Linked DNA regions of Homo sapiens: all the other regions are linked to region 3. The links are contacts of gene promoters, found by promoter capture Hi-C in blood cells and fetal thymus (Javierre and others, 2016). All regions are on one chromosome and are shown on one strand. Each heading gives the region's core, a stretch centred on a gene start or on the middle of the fragment in contact. The rest is flanking DNA. Distances are from core to core; before and after follow the strand shown. Region 1 holds the start of ZFP28 (ZFP28 zinc finger protein). Region 2 holds the start of ZNF324 (zinc finger protein 324). Region 3 overlaps ZNF772 (zinc finger protein 772). Region 4 holds the start of ZSCAN1 (zinc finger and SCAN domain containing 1). Region 5 holds the start of ZNF497 (zinc finger protein 497). Region 6 holds the start of ZNF835 (zinc finger protein 835).

Region 1 (3,536 bases), core at 398-2,897, 930 kb after region 3:
AAAAAGACTAAGAATTGAGCACTGCATCTGGTAATGTGAAGATCACAGTAACCCACTCAAGAGCAGTTTGGGTAGGACAACTGGAAGCTGGTTCATCTGTACATATATTTTTTGAGGCCTCAGTGGAAGTGAAATGGTTCATCTATTAATGAGCTAGCTATGATATTTATAGGAGAAGCCAACCGAAACAAACACAACTATTTACTGGCATGTTTTAAAGCCACAAAATCAAGTGGAAAAGCCTTTCATATTGCGCCTCCTCTCCCTAAAATGTTGTCTTTCTTTACTGTGCCTCCCAAACATCTTCTCTCCCTTCAAGGCAAGGCTCAAAAATCACCTCCTTGGTAAATAGGCCTACCCTTCCGCTACAGGAGGCTGGAAGCCAGGAGCGCCTTGTAGTCCTCGCTCATAATACTTGGCCCAAGGATGATCACATTCTAGAATCTTGCTTGTTTCCTTGACATTGGGTCAACAGGCTGTGAGCTCCAGAGCAGGGACTAGGGCTTAGCTATTGGTTTGCTCAGTGGCTGGCACAAAGTGGTCACCAAACAAACCATGTATAGCAGAAGAGTCTGCCGTGTTCCTCAAGGGGCACAATTCCTCCATCAGAGTCCCTCTGAGAAAAGCGGTACAAGGGAGAGGCTGAATCATTTCATCAATCAAGAATGAAGGCTGATTGGGATGAAGAAGAAGCAGGCATCGAGGCCCCGGGCAGTTTAAACTTTTCCCCGTAGCCCATCACTTCACTAGAACGTGAAGAAATAGAAACCCGCGCCCAAACAGGTCTCTTAAACTGAAAACTTTCAAGAAAATAAGCAACATTAAGTCCCGAAAAGCAAGACTGCATTTCAGAGACAAGAGATGAAATGCCAACTCACCTGGGACATGGCTTTAGGTTCAATTCCTGTCCCCACAGCCTCCAGCTTCTTGTTTCTCTCCTGGGGAAGAGCAGTGTCCCTGGAAGGCAGAGCTGAAAGAGAAAGGAGTAGCTAGAGACCAGGTCTACACCACAGTCCCAAATCACCAGCCTAGAAACGTCCCTTCCTGCATGAAAAGGTGGGATCAGATCATTACCCTGCCTAGGGACTGCCACAACGTGGAGATAGGTTTTTTTCCTCCCTGGGAGCACGAAAACAGGAAAAGCGTCTAGTTAGAGTCACCCTGGGAAAGTCAACACCCTTTTACCGCGGCTTGCTGCTCTGAATCAGTTGAGCTTCCAAATCTTCAGATTCTCCCACTCCACCAGCTTCAAAGACCAGGGGCACAGTTCTCCAGCAACTGGTCCCCGAGAGCCCAACCCCCTCCCAGATCTCATCCCGAGATGAATTCGTCCCTGTCCGCTCGGCCCCAAACACCTGTCACTCTCACCTCTGTGCCCAGGCCCCGTAGGGGCCGCTCCTCGCTGGCCTTTGGATGCGAGGCCATTCCTTGAGCGCGGCCTTCCCCGGGCAGGGAGGGCCAAGGTGGCTGGAGTCCCTACAGTCGGGCCTCGGCCCGCCCGGGGCTTTGTGCGGGGGGCGCCTCTACCCGGGAGCGGCGTCGGCTCGCGGACACTCGCGCTCGCCGCCCCCCGCATGTCACCCGAGGCCGCGCGACGCCCTTCCGACCGGTCCCTCACAGACCCACACCCCTGGCCACACCCGCCCGCCACGCCCAGCGAACAGCCCCGCGCGCGCTCCCCCATGGCCCGGCATCCACTGGGCCGCGCCGCGGAGCCGCCCCGCCCCCGGCCGCGCCCCGCCCCTCCCCACCCCTCCCCGCTGCCCCGCCCCGCCCCGCCCCGCCCCGCCCCGCCCCGCCCCGCCCCGCCCCGCCCCGCCCCGCCCCTCAGCCTAGAGAAGCCCGGCGCTTCCCACTTCCAGTGCGCAGGCAGCGCCGCCGGAACCGGGCGTGGCCTCGGCGCAATGCCCGCTGGGAAGCGTAGTCCCAAGCAGGGACGGATGCGGCGGCCCTCGGAGCTCAGGTTGCAAGATACGGTTTGGCCCCGGGCCTATGCAACGCCCGTCCGTCCTGCCCTCTGCGGGTCGCTCTCACTTGTCCCTGGACCGCAGCCGCCGCATAAGTGGTGGCCAACGCTGGGCCTGGGTGTGGCCGGAAGCAGAGGCCGCTCTGACTACACACCCACCCCCCAAAGGCTTCTGGGAGTCGCGCAGGCGCAGCGGCAGACCGGGTGAGGCGGGGCTTGCGGCGAGGGGTGGGACCGCAGGGCCGGAGTAAAAGGGTGCTTGGCTGTGACAGGTGCTAAGGGCCTGGGCGTCAGCTCCTTGCGGGAGCGTCACTGCCGACCGGGAAGGGAAAGGCAATCTTGGGGGCCTCCGGAGTCCGGAGGATCACTCTGATGGGTGATGTGTGTGGGCTAGGAAGGGGGATGTAGAGAGCTTGTGGGATTGTTTTGGGTGCCCCCTCACCTTCTCCCATTATCTCTGGCTACACGGGCCTCCCATCCTCCAAAATACCATTTTCCATTTTGTAACCTATGTATTTGCACGTCCTGGGTCGAAATAGTCTAACCCCAAATTTTCGTCTGGGCTGGCTCCTTTATGCCATTCACTTGTCATCGCCTCAGAGAGGGCTGCCTAACGTCTCAAAAATACCAGCCCTGGCGACCTCTTAAAGTTCCCTTCCTGTGTGAATCACGGTCTGAAGTTAGCTGATGGATTTATTCTTGAACATGTTTAGGACCGGTCTCTCCCCCAGGGGCCTTATCAGAACTGGAGAGCTTCATCCTGGGAGCCAAGGGCCTTGCTGGCTCACAGGCAGTGATGCTGTTACACCAGTCATCACAGATGCACTGACCTCTGCACGCCCAGTCACACTGCACGCCTGGTCTCCTTACTCTTGAATTGATTTCTTTCAGGTCTCCTGGCCTCAGTGATGGAATTAAGATGACTTCTATCTCTGAATCCAAGGGTGACTGAAAGCCGCAAGCTGCAGAAAGGACAAGGTCAGCATTTCTCTCAAAGCACTTCAGTCTCATAGAAAAGGCTTAGTTTCAGTCAGGTGGACCTAGCCATGTAATAGCTGTGGCAGACACTGCTAATGGTCTCTCTGGTGTCTATTTTGCACTCCTTCCACAGCAGAACATTGATGCTCTTCAAGTGGCCATCTGCCCAGCTTATAATACTCACCTCCCCAGTCTCCTTGTAAGGAGTAGTGGCTCTGTAACCAATGAATTTTAAGTACACATTTGCTGGGGGTTTGGTGGATGTGTGGAAAGAGACACAGCTGGCATGTAACTCTGGCCTTTTGTCATCTCACACAACCTTCTTCCTGCTTGGGTATGACACAGGATGTCAACAGGTAGAACAGCTGTAGAGAGCTGGCAAAGGGATCGTGGCCAACTCAACATTCCACTGGAGGCTATATGATCAAACAGCAAACTGTTTATCATGAATGCAGAATGTGGGCAAAGTCGCTTCTGCTCCAGCCACCAGAAGGTTTGCTGAAGGCAATCACTCCCTGGTGTCATGCTCCTTGAGGTTATCTAATGGGACATCTAGAGCCTATTGGTTGACGAATGCAGTCTTGCAAGCCTG
Region 2 (3,502 bases), core at 373-2,872, 990 kb before region 3:
GGGCCCTCAGCTGCCACACCAAGAGCAGCCCCAGGTGTCCACTCGTGACTCAGCATGACCACTCATGACCCTCCCCAGATGCACCCTTCCTGCTCTTGTAGCAAGAAACTGTGAGTCCCAGCAGGGGCTTCCCAGGCATACCCATCACTGGGACCCTCCCCTGCTGAGCCTGCTTGCCTGACATTTCCAGGCTGCTCATCCAGCCTGAGGGACTGGATGATTCTCACCAGTCGCCACAGGGGAGCAGCCTCAACAACCTGTGAACACAGAGGAACTCAATCCCTTCCTCCTTTCACCCGGTGTCCCCTTTCTTCCCCTCTCTGTTGCCACCCTCCCCTCCTCAGTTAGGTGCTAGGCTCTTCCCAATAGCCCCAGGCATCCCAGCTGGTCTTCTTTACCCTCAAGCCATAACTGCCCACACCTGGCTGAGTCCCTGCCCATTCCTCAGTCCAATTCATAGGCCCTGTCCACAGCCCAGGACGCCAACAACGTCAGGTCCAGTGACATGACCAACCTGGGACATCCCAGACTCTTGATCTTTCCCCTGAAGGAAACCTGCTTTCCTTTCAATTCTCCTTTCTATCTACAGCAGCTCTCTTCTTCCAGGCGCTCAGGCTGAACAACATGGGGTACTTAGTTCTTCAAACAGCCCACACCTGATGCATCCGCAGATCCACCAGAATTCACCTGGTCGCCCACCTCCACTGCTGCCCAGACTGTGGCAGTCGGTTCTTCCCTTCATGCCGACACCCCTGCATGTCTGTTCTCCACGCAACAAACGGTGGAACCGTTTTAAAGTCCTCAGAGGATGTCCTGATTCTGTTCAAAACTTCTATGTCTCCCGACGCCCTCGAGATAAAGCCCACTCCCTCGCCTGATACTGCAGCCGCACACATCCCCTCTACTCCAGCTCCACATCGAGAGAGCTCAGTCCCAGAAGCACCTGGGCTTCGGCTCCCCTCCCAGGTTTTGCACACGCAGGACTCTCCCCTCGGAGCCTCCTTCGGGACCTCAGCCCCCTGGCTGCCCGAACTCGGGAGCTCACCAGTGCCCTGGACGCAGGAGTTTGCACTGACCCCCGCAACCCCCCCAGGGCAGGGAGAGGAAAGACGACTAGGCGAGGTCTAGGAAGCGGCCTCCCTCCGTGAGGGCGCGGTCTGTGTGAGCAGGGACTCCCCTGCTTCCCCGACGCGGGCTTGTCAGCGCCACCGCCGCCAGCGGAACCCGCAGCTGGGAGGGAAGAAAGGCGTGGACCACCCAGCCTTTCCCCGCCAGCAGCGTCCCGGGGCCGCCCCGCGCCTCAGTCTCCCCGGCCATCATGGACGTGGAACGCCCAGCGCGCAGCCTCCTGGGCTGCCGCACGGTGGGAGAGCGCATGGCTCCCGCCGCGGCCCGACAGTCCCCTGGACGCCCACGACGCACTCTGAGAAACAGAGGCTTGGGGGCGCGGCCGGCGGCCGGCGCCCTTGATCACGACGCGTGCGCAGGGCGGGCCCGACGCGGGCCCTCAGCCAGTACCTTCCTCGCCGCCAGCCTCGAGCACCAGGAACCCCCTGGAAACCGGACCCGACCCGCGGTCCCCAGCCCAGACCACCGGTGTGGCCTGACGCGGGCGGCGAAGTGACAGTCCCACCGCCGGAAGTCCAGCCCTTCGGTTCTCATTGGCCCAGTGCGCGCCGCGGACGCTTGCGTACAGCCTTCCGGGTCACGTGGTTCCCGCCTGTTTCCCTGCGTGGAGGCGGGGCCACTACCGGTCTCCTTGGCAACGTCCAAGCCCCTGCCGCGCGGGGCGCTGGGAAATGGAGTCGCGCGGCGGCCTCGGGTTTTCAAGGGCTTGGTGGCGCTGGTGGATTCGCCCGGTGTGTAGTCCTGCCTTCGGCATTCCAGGTGTCCTCCCAAGCAGTCCCGGAGACTAAACCCTGCAGGTGCGAAAGCAGAAACTGCCGAGGTTCCAAGAGGCAACACCAGCAGTGAGCACGGAGGAGAAAATGCACCGGGTAGCGCAGGTGGAGGTGGAGGAGCCGATGCCTGGAGCTCCGGGTTCCCTTCCCAGCTCTGCCTCTCACTGACTGTGCGTCCTGGGCGCGGGTTTGACCTCTCTGTGTCAATGTCCCGTAAAGGTTTAAGGTCCGTTTTCAACCTTTACACCAAGAATTCTCAGCCCGTAAGCCTACATTTGTCTTAAGTATGAGACTGTTCCTCGACACTTGCCCAAAGCATCTGTTTTCCTTGTAATTTGGATGGGCAGAAGTTAATTCCCCAGATTTGCTTGTCCTTAGACCATCTAGATCTTGTCTTGCCCCACACATCACAATATTCATTCTTTTTTCCTTTTTTCTTGGGACTCATTTAAGTTTTTTTTTTTTTTTTTTAACAGGGTCTTTGTTCTGTTGCCCGTGCTGGAGTGCAGTGGCACAATCTCGGCTCACTGCAACCTCTGCCTTCAGGTTCAAGTGATCCCCCCGCCTCAGCCTCCGTAGTAGCTGGGACCACAGGTGTGCGCCACCATGCCTGGCTAATTTTTGTATTTTTTAGTAGAGATGGAGTTTCACCATGTTGGCCAGGCTGGTCTTGAACTCCTGACCTCAGGTGATCCGCCCACCTCGTTCTCCCAAAGTGCTGGGATTACAGGCCAATTTAAGTGTCTTTGACACATAAAAACGAAAGGCAGAGCAGTCTCAATGTAGACTGTCTTGTTTGGCAGATAATAAAAGGTTCTTTGTCTTGTTTTTGGAACCTGTAGACAGTTCTCAGCTGTCCAGTTCCTTAACTCTTTTTGCCTCCCTCCCTCTATACCTACCTCCATCTATAACTATCTCTCTGTCAACTGTCAGCTATAACTGTCCACCTAATTGATTCTACTTGTAAATCCTTGTAGAGCAAGGGAGCTCATCATGTTTGGAATGTTTTAATATAAATTTTGCTACTTTGAAAGAATTTAAGAACATTTCAGGACTGGGCGCAGTGGCTCACACCTGGAATCTGAGCACTTTGGGTGGCCAAGGTGAGCGATCACTGGAGCCTAGGAGTTTGAGACCAGCCTGAGCAACAAAATGTGACCCCATCTTTATAAAAAAATATAAAAATTAGCTGAGCATGGTCTTGCATGCCTGTAATACCAGCTACATGGGAGGCTGAGGTGGGAGGATTGAGTTCAGGAGTTGGAGTGTGCAGTGAGCTATGATGGAGCCCCTGCACTCCAGCCTGGGTAAGAGAGAGACCCTGTCTCAGGAAAAAACAAACAAAAACCCTGAGGGGGAAAAAAAAAACCCCAACACTTAGAAGTATTAAAGTTCAGGGCCGGGCGCGGTGGCTCACGCCTGTAATCCCAGCACTTTGGGAGGCCGAGGCGGGTGGATCATGAGGTCAGGAGATCGAGACCATCCTGGCTAACAAGGTGAAACCCCATCTCTACTAAAAATACAAAAAATTAGCCGGGCGCGGTGGCGGGCGCCTGTAGTCCCAGCTACTGGGGAGGCTGAGGCGGGAGAATGGCGTGAAC
Region 3 (3,677 bases), core at 55-2,554:
TGATGGGTAGTGAGCCCTGGGTACCTGACTGGGTGGACATGACCCTAGCTGTTGCCACAGAGACTCCAGGTGGGAGTGACCCTGGTGAGTAGGAGCTGGGGAAAGGTGTGATGTCAGGGCTGGGTTCATATCATTCCATAGCCTCTTTGTGCCTACAGTTGTATTAGTGCTAAGGCCACTGGCCTTTCATACTCTGGCCTTTGGCCTCTGGATGTTCCATACCTCTGCCTTCATGTCTCACCTGTTCCTCTCCATGGCTTGTTCTACAGTGCCTTCCAGCATTGGCCTGTACTTAGTGTTTCATGAGATGTGTAGCCCAAATAGTCCTTAAACACCAACTACTGAGTAGCAATTTGATTTTCTTTGGTATGGACCATAACCTTCTGCACAACTCTCACCTGTCCCCAGCAGCCAAGAAAATCTGATTGTGAATGACTTTGAGACCTGCCTCTTTTTTGTGCTGTACCCCACATCTTTGTCCTCTCCCAGTTGAGGCCTTCTCCATTCTATGACATTTAGATGCCAACTACCGTATAGTACACATTTGCTGAACTTGAGTTTGGACCCTTGTCCTAACAACAGTCCTATGACCTTGGTCTTAGTTGTGTTAGACACATATTTGTAGTGAGGCTTCCCCTCTTCCACCTGTGTCAATTTGTACTTCACCAGCATTTCTCTGCTTTCAGGTTGTTGGCATGGAATGGAGGATGAAGAGATACCTTTTGAGCAGAGCTTTTCTATAGGAATGTCACAGATCAGGATTCCCAAGGGAGGTCCTTCTACTCAGAAGGCTTACCCCTGTGGGACATGTGGCCTGGTCTTAAAAGACATTTTGCACTTGGCTGAGCACCAGGAAACACACCCAGGGCAGAAACCATACATGTGTGTGCTGTGTGGGAAACAGTTCTGCTTCAGTGCAAACCTTCACCAGCACCAGAAGCAGCACAGTGGAGAGAAACCCTTTAGAAGTGATAAGAGCAGGCCCTTTCTTCTGAACAACTGTGCTGTGCAATCAATGGAGATGTCTTTTGTGACAGGGGAGGCTTGTAAGGACTTCCTAGCCAGCTCAAGCATTTTCGAGCACCATGCCCCTCACAATGAGTGGAAGCCACACAGCAACACCAAGTGTGAGGAGGCCTCTCACTGTGGAAAAAGGCATTACAAATGCAGTGAATGTGGGAAAACCTTCAGCCGCAAAGACTCACTTGTTCAACACCAGAGAGTCCACACTGGAGAAAGGCCTTATGAGTGCGGTGAATGTGGGAAAACCTTTAGCCGCAAACCCATACTTGCTCAGCACCAGAGAATCCACACTGGAGAAATGCCTTATGAGTGTGGCATATGTGGGAAAGTTTTTAATCATAGCTCTAACCTTATTGTACATCAAAGAGTACACACTGGAGCAAGGCCTTACAAGTGCAGTGAATGTGGGAAAGCCTATAGTCACAAATCTACACTTGTTCAGCATGAGAGTATCCATACTGGAGAAAGGCCATATGAGTGCAGCGAATGTGGAAAATACTTTGGTCACAAATACAGACTCATTAAACATTGGAGTGTTCATACTGGAGCAAGGCCTTATGAGTGCATCGCATGTGGGAAGTTCTTTAGCCAAAGCTCTGACCTTATTGCACATCAAAGAGTTCATAATGGTGAAAAGCCTTATGTGTGCAGTGAATGTGGAAAAGCCTTTAGCCACAAACATGTACTTGTTCAGCATCATAGAATTCACACTGGAGAAAGGCCATATAAGTGCAGTGAATGTGGGAAGGCCTTCAGGCAGAGGGCTTCCCTCATCCGCCACTGGAAAATTCACACTGGAGAAAGGCCTTAGGATGGGAGATAATTCCGTTTCCTTGTTCAACATAATAACTGACATCAGAGAGAAGCTCCAAGCATAGCCTTTATGTGTAGCCGACAGCCAGAAGTAGAACTTTATACACTCAAACACTCACCCTGGGGAGGTTCTTCCGAGTGCCAGCTATATGGGAAGCCTTCTGGAGCTATGCTGAATTTTCTAGACTCTTGCTGGAATTTCGTCAAGGCAGTGCCTGTTAGAAGCCATCTGTCTTTGTGCTGGAAGAGTCCTGCCTTGTGCCAAAGTAACCCCAATGTGTTTCAAAAGACAGACCTCTGTACTATTCCCTTCCCTGGAGGGAATCATCAGTAGCCTGAGGCCATCAAGGATTCTCACTTTTTTTCTGCCCCACTACTGGTTTAAGCATGAGCATGACCCAGTTTTAGCCAGAAAAATGGGAGCTTTGTTCTGCTGACCACTGGCAGAGGTTTCCCTTCATGGATATAGTTGATCTCACATGGCACTTGGGACGAATTTTTCTAGCCTTCAAGACACCTGACCTGAAATTGGCTGCCTCATATTCTGGTTTTGCAACAAATGCCTTAATTTTTAGACTATCTGAAATCTTGAGGATTCTGTTCGCTTTGTGGGTTGGGTTGAGAACAGAATTGAGCTAAGCCAGTATGAAGGGAAGAACAGCTTTTGTGAGAGCTCCAACTATCTGTATCTCTGAAGTGATAGTAGGATGGCAAAGACTAGCTCTTATGCTAGTGTCAAGCTAACTTACTTGACTGCTTCAGCTCTCCTAGGAAAGAATGCCAGTCTTTGTAGGCCTAATCTTTTGGTCTATATGTTAAGATTTTTTGTGTAATTGAGGTCACCCTAAGCAGTGGGCATTTGTTGTGATAATCTCTAATGTGTCTGGGAGCAACATGAATTACGTCCCTTGTTCCCAGAAGATACTTCATATTCCCAAGGCTTCTTGAGGAGAATTTGAACTCAGTGGACATGTCAAGATCTCTGAAGTCTATTTTTCAGTAGGCAGTTGATATTGGCTGTCCTCCAGAAGGCCCAGGTAGGAATCATAGTTGGTGCAGAAACCCAGATTAATAAAGGAATGAGAAAACTGCAGCAAACTATAGGGAATATGACCCTTCTAAAGGTACATCCACATGTGTTTCCATTACTCTGGCTCCATTATGAGGGTTTACAGAAATATTTCCATACCTGTGTCTCTTATGGCTAAGGTTACTGTCCAGAAGTCAGTCTAAACATTTTTGCAATAAACTGCACATATTTATAGTGTACCATTTGATAAGTTTTGATACATGTTGGCACTTCTCAAACCAAAAGTTTCCTGATTCCTTTTATATTTTCTCCCTTTCCTTCACCCATCCCCAGGCAACTATTGATCCGTTGTCACTGTAGATTTGTTTGTATTTCCTAGAATTCTACAGAGATAGAGTAATTTAATATGTATTCTAATGTTTTTGGCTTCTTAAACTCTGAAATTAAGGCTCATGGTGGTGTTCTGTGTTTCATAGTTCATTTCTTTTCATTTGTACTTTGCTAAGAGTGTTCCATTGTAGAGAAATAGTTTCAAAGCAAGTGATCCAGGAGAGAACTCACACAAGAACAAAGCCACAGTATCTGTCATTACCTTAAACTGAAAGTGATGAGCCGTCATTTCTGCTATATTTCATAAGTAACCCTAGCTAATCCTGGTTAAAAGTGGAAGAGAACTACACAAAGGTGAAAATAGGGATTTGTGGGGCGTTTTCTTGGACTCTGGTGACCATAATCCTATATGGTTTTTTTCTTTTTCTGTTTTAGTTGTTTAATATGAATTACATTGACTGATTTTTTTAAATGTTAAGCC
Region 4 (3,622 bases), core at 653-3,152, 560 kb before region 3:
GAAGGATTTTTGACCATATGGGAAATGCTTATGACAAGTGAAAAGGAGGGATTCCATGGGATTTTTCCCTCTTCATCCTCTGCTGCATTTTTCATACACTCTGCAGTTCTCGTGCATCTGGTTTTACAATCCAGGAGAAAGGAGAGGTGCAGGGTGGCAGAAAGGCAACTCACGGGGACTGTGCCCAGCCAGCCATCTTCGAGTCAGCGTACCCGGCCACCTGCACCCTGATTGGGAAACTACCAGCTTGGTCTTCCCTGCCAAGGCCACAGGCAAAAATGCTCTCTTATGTTGTATTCACACTTTTATATATGTAGTTTTGAATAAGAAAAAAGGGCCTATTTTGAAGCTCCACAGGTTCAAGAAATCCCTTTGCCCTGGGGCCTCAGACCTTATACTCTCTCAGGTGCTCATGGCAGCTCACCCTGGAGACTCTAGGGAGGGGGGCTGTAGCCCCTCAGCATCCTCCAGGGTCCTGGGCTGAGGTCTGTGGGAGGAGATGCTAAGTTTATCAGGGATGAGGGTAAAGAGGAGGTCTTAGCAGAAGGCACCAGAGGTCCATGGGTGTGTCTGGGGTCTATATGGGGGCTGATGTGGAACACCTAGGCCAATGTGGGGGTACCTGAGCTGATGAGAGTCCTGGACTGATGGGTGGCTGTTTCTGGAAGATGAAGAGGGCCTGGGATGATGTGAAGGGGACTGAGGTCTACATGGCTGGTGAGGAGGATCTGGGCCCCCCCATGGGCAATGCTGTGGTGGCCCTGGGGTCCTAGAAGTCTACTTTGGTAGGGGTCTCTGATTAATGTTGGGGATGTGTGTGTGTGAGAGAGTGTCACTTGGAGGGCTCAGTGCCTGTGGAAGGGCCAGGTTCACCTGGCATGGGCACTGAGATCTGCAGCCCGAGCCCCAAATTCTATTGCGGGGATGGGCAGAAGGGCTTTGCCGCTGATGCCGGATGCTTAGTGACATAGAAGACGTGTTCACTGCGCCAGTCAGTGAATGGTTCTGGCTTTGAGAAGGGGGCTTACAGTGGGGAGGGCGTTGGGAGCTTAGGATGCCACACGGAGGAGTTCCATAATAAACGAGCTGGGGAAGTGTGCAAGGGCAGCGCACTGGGAATACAGGGGAGGGGCAGCGACGACGGCTGTGGACGGCTGGTTGGGGGGAGGATGGTGGGGTGATTGGGTGGGGGATGGGTCGGGGGCGGCTGTTCAGGAGGGAGATGGGCCTGGGGCGGGGAGGGGGAGCTTGTAGGGAGAGAGACGGGTCGGGGGCTGCTGTTCCAGTGGGGGATGGGCCCAAGGGGCCGGGTAGGGAGGGAGATGGGTCCGGGGGCGGCTGTTCAGGAGGGAGATAGGTCCCGGGATGCTGATCAGGTGTGGAAGGGAGAACTTGGACGCGGCCGAGCGGTGTTTGGGCGGGCAATGGGGGTACGTAGAGGGGCTTCGGCCTCAAACGGACAGGCGGATGCCAACAGGGGTCGGGGTCCCTGCGGAAGGGGCGGCCCCAGCCCCCCCAGTCCCCGCCCCGCGTGGCCTCTAGCCTTCCCCTTCCCTCCCCTACGGCGACCTCAGGACTCCCGATGGGCTCTGGAACCCCGGCCCGGCCCGCCCCCTCCCGGGCCCGGGCCCGCCTCCCCCGACGCGCGCCCCTGGACCGCGATCCCGGGCCAGCTCCCGCCGACGCGGCGCCGAGACCCTCCCGGGTGGGCGTCCCGATGGACGCTCTGGCGGGCGGAGGGACGGATGGGCCGCGGCGGACTCACCGCGCGCGGGCTTCGCTCGGGCCTGGGCCACTCGGTCATGGCGACCCCTGGGCTGGCGAGCGCGCCCAACGCCGCGGGCGGACCCCATCCCCGCACCCTGCGCGCCGCGGGCGGCCGCCATTGGTCCGCTGGATCACGCCGGGCGTCGGTGACAAGTCACCGCTGCGGGACTCCCGGGCAGGGGCGGGGCTGTGACGCACGAGGCGGCCGAGGCCAATCAGAAGCCGCCTGGGATGAGCGCCCCGCCCCCGCCGTGCCCTCCAGTTACCTCGGGCCGCGGTTCCAGTCGCCTTGGCAACGGGTCGCGCAGCGTCAGGGACGCTGCTGCGGAAAGTGGAGACGGTGGCGGCTGCGGGGATGCGCATGTACGATGGGGCCGCGGGGCAAAACGACGGCATTCCAGACACGCAACCGTTTTATACAGTGTCCAAGAGTAGTATGTTAAAACATTGTTTTTAATATAAATATGTTTAGTACAAGTATGTCCCAGACTAGGATCGCCACTCTTAGCAAATAAAAATACAGGACGTCGGCCGGGCGCGGTGACACGCCTGTAATCCCAGCACTTTGGGAGGCCAAGGCAGGCGGATCACGAGGTCATGAGTTCGAGACCAGCCTGACCAATATGGTGAAACCCCCGTCTCTACTAAAAATACAAAAATTACCTGGGCGTGGTGGCGCATGCCTGTAATCCCAGTTTCTCAGGAGGCTGAGACAGGAGAATCACTGGAACCGGGGAGGCGGAGGTTGCAGTGAGCCGAGATTGCTCCATTGCACTCCAGTTTTCCAGCGTGGGTGACAGAGCGAGACTCCGTCCCCCCACCCCCAAAAAAAAGAAAGAAAAAAGAAACCTCAGTTATATGTAAACTCAAGAAAAACAAGGAGGCCGGGCGCGATAGCTCACGCCTGTAATCCCAGAACTCGGGAGGCCGAGGCAGGCGGATCACCTGAGGTCGGGTGTTTCAGACCAGCCTGGCCAACATGGTGAAACCCCGTCTCTACTAAAAATACAAAAATTAGCCAGGCATGGTGGTGCGTGCCTGTAATCCCAGCTACTCGGGAGGCTGAGGTAGGAGAATCGCTGGAACTGGGGAAGCCGAGGTTGCAGTGAGCCGAGACCTGCCAACGCACTCCAGCCTTGCCTGGGCAACAGAGTGAGACTCTGTCTCAAAAAAAAAAAAAAAAAAAAAAAAAGAAAGAAAGAAAAAGAAAAACAAGGAATTAGTATCAATGTGTCCTATATTTCATATACTTTAACGAAACCTTACATAAGAACATTTCATATAAATAAGTTTTAATATTAATGTCTACAATGTAACCATGTGCCAGAATAGTAGGGTTCCACAGATACTCGTTTTGTATCTGAAATCAGGTGGGGGTGAGATCATGATGCAAGGAGGGTCCTCAGCTCTGGGACTGAGCTCAGGATAGCTGAAGCTGCTCATTGCTGAAGAAGAAGCAGGAGAGTGTGAGCTAAGAAAAGAGAGGAGGACCCACCTCCAGGGGGTCCAGCATCTGCTGGACAGCTGTTTATTGAGGGCCTATGTGTACCAGGCACTGTTCTGGACACTGGGGTGGGAGCACATCAGTGAGAGGGACTGATAGGGCTTTAGTCCCTTGGAAGCCCATGTTCATGGGGCAAACACCAGTAAACAAAGCAGATGCTTCATGGAAATATAAATACCTAGAATAAAATAAAACGAGGCCTGGAGATTAAGAGTCCCAGGAGTGGCAGGGAGGGGAGGGGCTGCCTCAGCTGGATAATCAGAGCCGTGTCTCCGCATCTTTGCTGCTGGCGGCTGGTCCCTGGAATGTTGTGTGTGAATGCCACTTTGTGCAGAAACCACTATGGGAAAA
Region 5 (3,578 bases), core at 358-2,857, 890 kb before region 3:
AAACTAACACACCATCCCTCAGTTCTGCTTTTCTGTATGGACTCCATTCTCTTAACAGATTCATCCTTCAGCGGGGCAAGAAGGCTGCAGCTGCCCCAGCTGACAGATGCTCACAGCCTCAGGTTCAAAGCAGATAGAGGCCCTAACAGTTCAGAGAGAAGTCCCACGATGCTCACAGGTCCAAAGTGACCACTGCCAGGGCCAGAGGGATGGACTGCCCTGTGCTGTGGACCTGGGCCATGTACCCACACCTGCCCAAACCACCTGGGCTGAGGTGAGAGCTCCCTAGTACAAATTGGGAAAAATTGGTACAAAAAGAGCTCGTGGAGGCCGGGTGCAGTGGCTCGGGTCTGTAATCCTAGCACTTTGGGAGGCCAAGGTGGGAGGATCACTTGAGCCCAGAAGTTCAAGACCAGCCTGGGCCATATAGCGAGACCCCGTCTCTAGCTATTCATTTATTTTAGCTTACAGCATCTGGTCTATGTTGTTTTTTGAGACGGAGTCTTGCTCTGTCACCCAGGCTGGAGTGTGCAGTGGCACGACCTCAGCTCACTGTAACTTCTGCCTCCCCGGTTCAAGCGATTCTCCTGCCTCAGCCTCCCGAGTAGCTGGGATTATAGGCACACGCCAACAAGCCTAATTTTTGTATTTTCAGTAGAGACGGGGTTTCACCATGTTGGTCAGGCTGGTCTCGAACTCCTGACCTCGTGATCTGCCCGCCTCGGCCTCCCAAAGTTCTGGGATTACAGGCGTGAGCCACCGCGCCCGGTTTATTTATTTATTTTAGCCAACAGCACTCGGTGTTCCCAGACGGTCTCCCAAGTACTAACCAGGCCCGACCCTGCTTAGCTTCTGAGATCCCGACTCAATTTTTTTTTTTTTTTTTTGAGACGGAGTCTCGTTCTGTCGCCCCAGGCTGGAGTGCAGTGTCGCGATCTCGGCTCACTGCAAGCTCCGCCTCCCAGGTTCAAGCGATTCTCCTGCCTCAGCCTCCCGAGTAGCTGGGACTACAGGCGCCCGCCACCACGCCCGGCTAATTTTTTGTATTTTTAGTAGAGACGGGGTTTCTCCGTGTTAGCCAGGATGGTCTCGATCTCCTGACCTCGTGATCCGCCCGCCTCGACCTCCCAAAGTGCTGGGATTACAGGCGTGAGTCACCGCGCCCGGCCCCCGACTCTATTTTAAAAACCGCGTGGATTCCAGCTTGGTGGGTGTTCCACAGCGCGTGGGTGTGAGACGCAGCTCAGTGGCGTCAACTCAGCAAGGTTCCAGGGTGGTAAAGACGGCCTGGGGCCGGAGGAGGACCGCCAGGGAGAAGCTACGTTGGCCCGACTTGCGTCCGCGACCCGGGCAGCCCCAGGCGCCTGTGTAGCTGTTGGGTGTGTGCCGCAGAGGCTGGCCGGGTGCAGGAAGGGGCGGAGCGCATCCATGGCAACGCAGGACGCCCGAGTAGCTTGGCTGTGGCGCCGTCCCCATGGGAACCAGAAGGCGCGCGCCCGCAGCCGCGGCATAGTTACGCAGGCGCAGTGGGGAGAAACGCGACGCCTTGGGCCGCTCTGCCGAATGCAACCGCGCCCCCAGGAGACCCGGTGCCCGCCCTCCTACCATTCCACGCGGCTCGAGCCCGCGTGCGGGCCTCTTTCAGGCCGCTCCTAGTGGACGCAGAGGCGGGCCGAGGACGGTGAGTGACGCCGACGGACACCCTCGGCCAGGCACAGATCCGCCCTCCGGCTCCAACCACTCCCGCCGCGCGGGGCAGGACGGGCCTCGGCCCTGAGCTGGGCCCTCTGGGACCACCGAGAGATAGGCCTCCGCGCCGTCCAGAGCGGCCCGGAAGTGGCCCTGCACGGGCCAGAGGCGACCGTGGTCGGGACGGAAATGGCTCCCGTTTGCTGTTCTCTCGGTGAACGCGAGCCTTATGGCGATCAGTTCTGTGGCATCGTTCCTCCTGCTCGTTTATTCTTTCACTCATTCACTCATGCCCTGCCGCGCCATCATTTCTTCCCACATTCATTTATTCGTTCATCAGTCCCCAGCCCCGGGTAGTTTCGGAGCTCACCAGGCTGGGCTCGCCTCCCAGCCTCCGGAGCTGCCCGCACAGGCCTCGCGCCACCTGGCCGCAGCTTCCTCCCCTTTATCCACTCCGTATTTGTTTGTCCAGCCTAGGCCTTGGGGGTTGTGGGGGAGACACAAGTACCCGTGACTGGTCGGACAAGTGCCCGTTGTTGGGGGCGTGGGCGCTGGGACTGACGCGGGAGGTGGCTCTGATCATGTCGAGGTGAGGAGGAGGCGTTGAGGCTCAGAAAGGGCACGCAGCGTGGACGTGAGGACGTCGGGGAGGCTGGAGCAGTGAGGCCGACAGGAAGGACCTTACGGGGCTCACATGCTATCCCACGACGAGGACGGACTCAGGACGGCAGCCCTGATAGATGCGGCTGGGGGCTGGCGGGTCGGGGTCGCACACCACAGGATGGAGGGGCAGCGGTGCCTGGCTCCGCCTTAAGAAACATGGGCCCTTGGGGGACCCGGATTTCTGATACTTCAATACACAAATATGGATTTTTATTGAAATCAGATGTCGTTTTTTTAAAATTTAACTTTTGATTTGAGGTAATTATAAATTCACATGCAGTAACAAGTAATGCATACCCTATGTACGCTTTACCCAATTCCCCTAAAGGTGGCATCTTGAAAAACTAGAGGCCAGGTGCGGTGGCTCATGTCTGTAATCCCAGCACTTTGGGAGGCCAAGGCGGGTGGATCCCTTGAGCTCAGGAGTTAAAGACCAGCCTGAGCAACATGGTGAAACCCCATCTGTACTGAAAACACAAAAATTAGGCGGGTGTGGAGGCTGGTGCCTGTAATCCCAGCTACTCGGGAGTCTCAGGCAGGAGAATCGCTTGTACCCAGGAGGCGGAGGTCGCGGTGAGCCCACATCACGCCACTGCACTCCAACCTGGGCAACAGAGCGAGACTCTGTCTCAAAAAAAGAGAAGAGAAAGAAAAACTAGAGTACAATATCACAACTGAGATGCAGAATATTTCCATCACGAAGGATCCCCGTGTTGCCCTTACAGAGCCGCATACCCTTCCCTCCTACCTCTGCTCCCCGTTAACCTCTTTTTGTCAACTAGTAATCTGTTCTCATTTCTACCATTTTGTCATTTTACGAATGTTGCATAGGCTGGGCGAGGTGTCTCGCGCCTGTAATACTAGCACTTTGGGAGGCCGAGGCGGGTGGACCATCTGAGGTCAAGAGTTCAGGACCGGCCCACCGGCCGGGTGCCGTGGCTCACGCCTGTAATCCCAGCACTTTGGGAGGCTGAGGCGGGCGGATCACGAGGTCAGGAGATCGAGACCATCCTGGCTAACACGGTGAAACCCCGGCTCTACCAAAAATATAAAAAAATTAGCCGGGCATGGTGGCAGGCGCCTGTAGTCCCAGCTACTTGGGAGGCTGAGGCAGGAGAATGGTATGAACCCGGGAGGCAGAGCTTGCAGTGAGCCAGGATAGCGCCACTGGACTCCAGCCTGGGCGACAGAGCAAGACTCTTCTCAAAAAAAAAAAAAAAAAAAAA
Region 6 (3,797 bases), core at 131-2,630, 800 kb after region 3:
TTTGCTACATTTGTAAAATGTAAGAGGTATATATAATATATGTATATTTCTAACGTAAAAACAATTTTTTTCTTTTCAAGATTTTTTCTTAAAAAGATGAGAGAAACATATTTTTTCAGGAAAAACAAACTTTAAAAAAAAAAGAGGAGAAATAAAACCTTTTCTCCCCTTTCCCCATCCTCTATCTATCCCTGTTTCCCAGGAACAAATCAAAAGGTGGATTATCTTCTGAAGAATGGAAACTGTTAGTCCAGAATGATGTCTTTTTCTCAATGCAGTGAGTTATAGATTCTCTAGTTTTCTCCCTAGGGATGGGAAGGGGGCATTGACGCAAGCCTGGAGAGGAGCCCGGGGAGCAGGGTCATGAAGTTTTTTCTTCAGTGAAGGAGGAATACAATCAAGGGTTTTGTATTCAGAATGTTGTGCAATATTTTGGAATAGGACATTGGTGTGTTTAGAGATTTTAGTTTAAAAACAAAACAAAAAGATTGATCAAATCTGTACAGTTTCTATTGTTCCAGATTTTTTAAAGTTTGTATTAAAAGCATGATACATAATAAAAATAAATAAATAAATAAAACTAAAAAGTAAAATGAAATTCTTCATCTATGTTAATGGATTTGCCACCTTCTTTGCCATAGACTGGAATGACATCAGCTACCTGAGACCAAAATAAAAGTGTGGGTTGCAAACCCTGGCACCTACCTTTTTAGATTCCGCAGCCTGCAGTAGGGACTTAGCCTGTCTGAACCTCAGCTTCCTTCTTTCTTCTTCTTTTTTTTTGAGACGAAGTCTCGCTCTGTCACCCAGGCTGGAGTGCAGTGGTGCGATCTCAGCTCACTGCAACCCTCGCCTCCCAGGTTCAAGCCATTCTCCCGCCTCAGCCTTCCAAGTAGCTGGAAGTGCATGCCACCATGCTCGGCTAATTTTTGTATTTTTAGTAGAGACGGGGGTTTCGCCATATTGGCCAGGCTGGTCTCGAACTCCTGACCTCAGGTGATCCACCCGCCTCGGCCTCCCTAAGCGCTGGGATGACAGGTGCCCGGACTCAAGTTCCTTCTTTCTAAGCCTGTGGGCTCGGCCTCATCCCCTGAGCAAGAAAAAAGTCCCACCCCTGAGTTACTGGAAGCGCCCACCGCCATGCACTGAGGCTGTAGTGGGCGGGGCTCGGGGCAGCAGCCCGGCGCTCCTCGGGCCCCCAGGGGTCAGCGCCCTGCGGACCTAGCGTGTGCAGACGCTTAGCCTTCTGGGAGTTGTAGTTTCGATGACCCAGGCTTTGCAAGCTTTAGTCGCGGTGCCGGCGAGCGCGCAGCGCCCCCTGGGAGTCGTAGTTCCTAAGAACCAGGCGGGCCCGATGCGCAGGCGCAGTCCACCCCGGCCTGGTGCGCGGGCTCCTCCGCAGCAGCAGAAGTCTTGACCTTAGCTCGTCTAAGGAAGGAGGCACCAGGGTCTGCGTTGGCCCAGGAGGACCCGAGACTGAGTAGAAGCGGAGCCGACTGCACCAGGCTAGGAGGGGGCCGGCCAGCGCGTTCGAAGGTGATACCGGGAGGCGAGAGCAACGGTGTGTAGTGTGCGCGTGTTCCTGCAGGTGTGTGACCGCGTGTGAGCCCGTCCCCGAGTGCCATTGTGTCTGCACCTGTTCACTTAGCGGTGTCAGCCCGTATAGGTGTGTGACTGCCTGTGAGCCCGTCCCTGAGTAACACAGCGTCTGCACCTGGTCACTCGACGGTACCAGCAGGTGCAGGTGTGTGACTGCCTGTGAGCCTGTCACTGCATCTGCACCTGCTTACTCGGCGGTGCCAGCCCGTCACTGTGTCTGTACCTGCTCACTTGGCGGTGCCAGGCCGTGCAGGTGTGTGACTGGCTGTGAGCCTGTCCCTGAGTGTCACAGCGTCTGCACCTGCTCACTCGACGGTACCAGCAGGTGCAGGTGTGTGACTGCCTGTGAGCCCGTCCCTGAGTGTCACAGCGTCTGCCCCTGCTCACTTGGCGGTGCCAGCCCATCACTGTGTCTGTACCTGCTCACTCGGCGGTGCCAGGCCTTGCAGGTGTGTGACTGCCTGTGAGCCCGTCCCCGAGTGTCACTGTGTCTGCACCTGCTCACTCAGTGGTGCCAGCCCAGGCAGGTGACTGCAGGTAAAGGCATGTAACACTTTATCGGTGTGTTATGTGCTCGTTCATGTGAAGCGGTGTCTGCATATCACAGCATGTCACATACACGTGTGGCTGCCTTTGGGCAAGTCTGAAAGTTCTCCTGGATGTGAGGTGTGTGACCCCACGTGTGCATGTCTGGGTGTGCCGCCGTGTAGGCTGGCTCGGCCCGTGTGCCTGCCAGCACAATGATGGGTGACCTGGCTGTGCGAGCCTGTAGAGTGCCGTGCTGTCTGAAGTGTGTGCATCTGCACATGATGGAGACGCTGCACATGTGGGCTTTGGCTATGCTGGAGCTCTATCCACCGAGTGTGACTGCACATGTGTCCAGCCATCCCCTGTGGGTGTGTCCCAGTAATGGCCGGCCTGTGTGGAGCAGGTGGCATGTGTGACCTTGTGCGTCTCTGTGCACCTCTTCACACAGGGAGCTACGTGTGGGGCTGGGTGTGTGTGTAGCTACGTGTGCCCGGGACCCTGTGTGCATGTGTGAGTGTGGCTGCAGGTGATGGCTTCCCACCTGCCTCCTTGCATGGGGGTTAGGAGGGCGACTGTGTGTCCCTGGATATGGGTTTGGGTGTCTCTGCATGTCTGTGTGTGTCTGGGCAGGTATGATTGTGTATGACCCTGTGTGTGTCAGAGTGTGATGTAATGCATGTGTCTTCCTGTGATCTTGTGATATAATAAGAAATATATGTTTAATCTTTATCCCCAGCTCCTGGTACCAGAGCCCCTAAAACCCTTGGAATTTCCTGAGTGACAGGGGTAGAAGGAGTGTCTTCTGCAACTCTTAATAAGCCCCCTGCAACCACACCTGTGTTTATGCTAATGGAGGACTCCTGATAGGCCCCCAAGTACATTTATGCTAATGGAGGACTCCTGATAGGCCCCCAAGTACATTTATGCTAATGGAGGACTCCTGATAGGCCCCCAAGTACATTTATGCTAATGGAGGACTCCTGGTAGGCCCCCAAGTACATTTATGCTAATGGAGGACTCCTGATAGGCCCCCAAGTACATTTATGCTAATGGAGGACTCCTGATAGGCCCCCAAGTACATTTATGCTAATGGAGGACTCCTGATAGGCCCCCAAGTACATTTATGCTAATGGAGGACTCCTGGTAGGCCCCCAAGTACATTTATGCTAATGGAGGACTCCTGATAGGCCCCCAAGTACATTTATGCTAATGGAGGACTCCTGATAGGCCCCCAAGTACATTTATGCTAATGGAGGACTCCTGGTAGACCCCCAAGTACATTTATGCTAATGGAGGACTCCTGATAGGCCCCCAAGTACATTTATGCTAATGGAGGACTCCTGATAGGCCCCCAAGTACATTTATGCTAATGGAGGACTCCTGGTAGGCCCCCAAGTACATTTATGCTAATGGAGGACTCCTGATAGGCCCCCAAGTACATTTATGCTAATGGAGGACTCCTGGTAGACCCCCAAGTACATTTATGCTAATGGAGGACTCCTGATAGGCCCCTAGGATGGGCTGGTTGCCACGGGAGCTAGCCCTGATGAGCATTCCAGCCTTCAGCCAGCCCCTACCTCCTGGGAGGGGAGAGGGCTGGAAGTTGAGTTCATCACCGATGGCCAGTGTCATCACACCTATGTCAGTCACGCCCGTGTCATGGAACCCCC

Evidence for each region. The method cuts DNA at HindIII sites, captures the fragments that hold promoters and counts their contacts. A CHiCAGO score of 5 or more calls a contact.
Region 1: a contact is called between the fragment with the promoter of ZFP28 here and a fragment that was not itself captured in region 3, in 4 of 17 cell types (neutrophils, naive CD8 T cells, fetal thymus and 1 more). The highest score is 7.8, in neutrophils.
Region 2: a contact is called between the fragment with the promoter of ZNF324 here and a fragment that was not itself captured in region 3, in 12 of 17 cell types (naive CD4 T cells, total B cells, total CD4 T cells and 9 more). The highest score is 13.9, in naive CD4 T cells.
Region 4: the fragment with the promoter of ZSCAN1 here is called in contact with a fragment that was not itself captured in region 3 in 1 of 17 cell types (fetal thymus); the score reaches 5.2 in fetal thymus.
Region 5: the fragment with the promoter of ZNF497 here is called in contact with a fragment that was not itself captured in region 3 in 13 of 17 cell types (non-activated CD4 T cells, naive CD8 T cells, naive CD4 T cells and 10 more); the score reaches 15.3 in non-activated CD4 T cells.
Region 6: the fragment with the promoter of ZNF835 here is called in contact with a fragment that was not itself captured in region 3 in 11 of 17 cell types (neutrophils, naive CD4 T cells, monocytes and 8 more); the score reaches 10.2 in neutrophils.

What each region holds. Positions count from the first base shown.
Region 1 is chr19:56,537,059-56,540,594 of GRCh38, reverse strand. ZFP28 (ZFP28 zinc finger protein) reads right to left here and starts at 1,647. Exons shown (of 8, transcript NM_020828.2): 1 at 1,369-1,647; 2 at 879-970. The coding sequence starts at 1,576. It overlaps ZFP28-DT (ZFP28 divergent transcript), which reads left to right and starts at 1,861. Exons shown (of 3, transcript NR_183967.1): 1 at 1,861-2,170; 2 at 2,858-2,944. The HindIII fragment of the contact is 11,931 bases long and covers 1-3,536 here.
Region 2 is chr19:58,465,200-58,468,701 of GRCh38, reverse strand. It overlaps ZNF324 (zinc finger protein 324), which reads right to left and starts at 1,622. Exons shown (of 4, transcript NM_014347.3): 1 at 1,519-1,622. RefSeq lists enhancers at 122-241, 660-1,274, 1,275-1,891 and silencers at 1,373-1,502, 1,583-1,632. The HindIII fragment of the contact is 6,014 bases long and covers 1-3,502 here.
Region 3 is chr19:57,471,431-57,475,107 of GRCh38, reverse strand. It overlaps ZNF772 (zinc finger protein 772), which reads left to right. Exons shown (of 4, transcript NM_001144068.2): 4 at 687-3,677. The coding sequence ends at 1,834. Among named protein-coding and RNA genes, the nearest start is that of ZNF772, 4.3 kb to the left of the region's middle. The HindIII fragment of the contact is 6,834 bases long and covers 1-3,677 here.
Region 4 is chr19:58,032,305-58,035,926 of GRCh38, reverse strand. It overlaps ZSCAN1 (zinc finger and SCAN domain containing 1), which reads right to left and starts at 1,902. Exons shown (of 6, transcript NM_182572.4): 1 at 1,766-1,902. The HindIII fragment of the contact is 10,205 bases long and covers 1-3,622 here.
Region 5 is chr19:58,360,780-58,364,357 of GRCh38, reverse strand. ZNF497 (zinc finger protein 497) reads left to right here and starts at 1,607. Exons shown (of 3, transcript NM_198458.3): 1 at 1,607-1,681. ZNF497-AS1 (ZNF497 antisense RNA 1) reads right to left here and starts at 1,732. Exons shown (of 3, transcript NR_136527.1): 1 at 1,606-1,732. It also overlaps the pseudogene RNA5SP473. RefSeq lists enhancers at 1,913-2,042, 1,772-2,320. The HindIII fragment of the contact is 6,825 bases long and covers 1-3,578 here.
Region 6 is chr19:56,669,340-56,673,136 of GRCh38, reverse strand. ZNF835 (zinc finger protein 835) reads left to right here and starts at 1,380. Exons shown (of 2, transcript NM_001005850.3): 1 at 1,380-1,561. It overlaps LOC105372473 (a long non-coding RNA gene), which reads right to left and starts at 1,158. Exons shown (of 4, transcript XR_936110.4): 1 at 706-1,158. The HindIII fragment of the contact is 4,177 bases long and covers 1,286-3,797 here.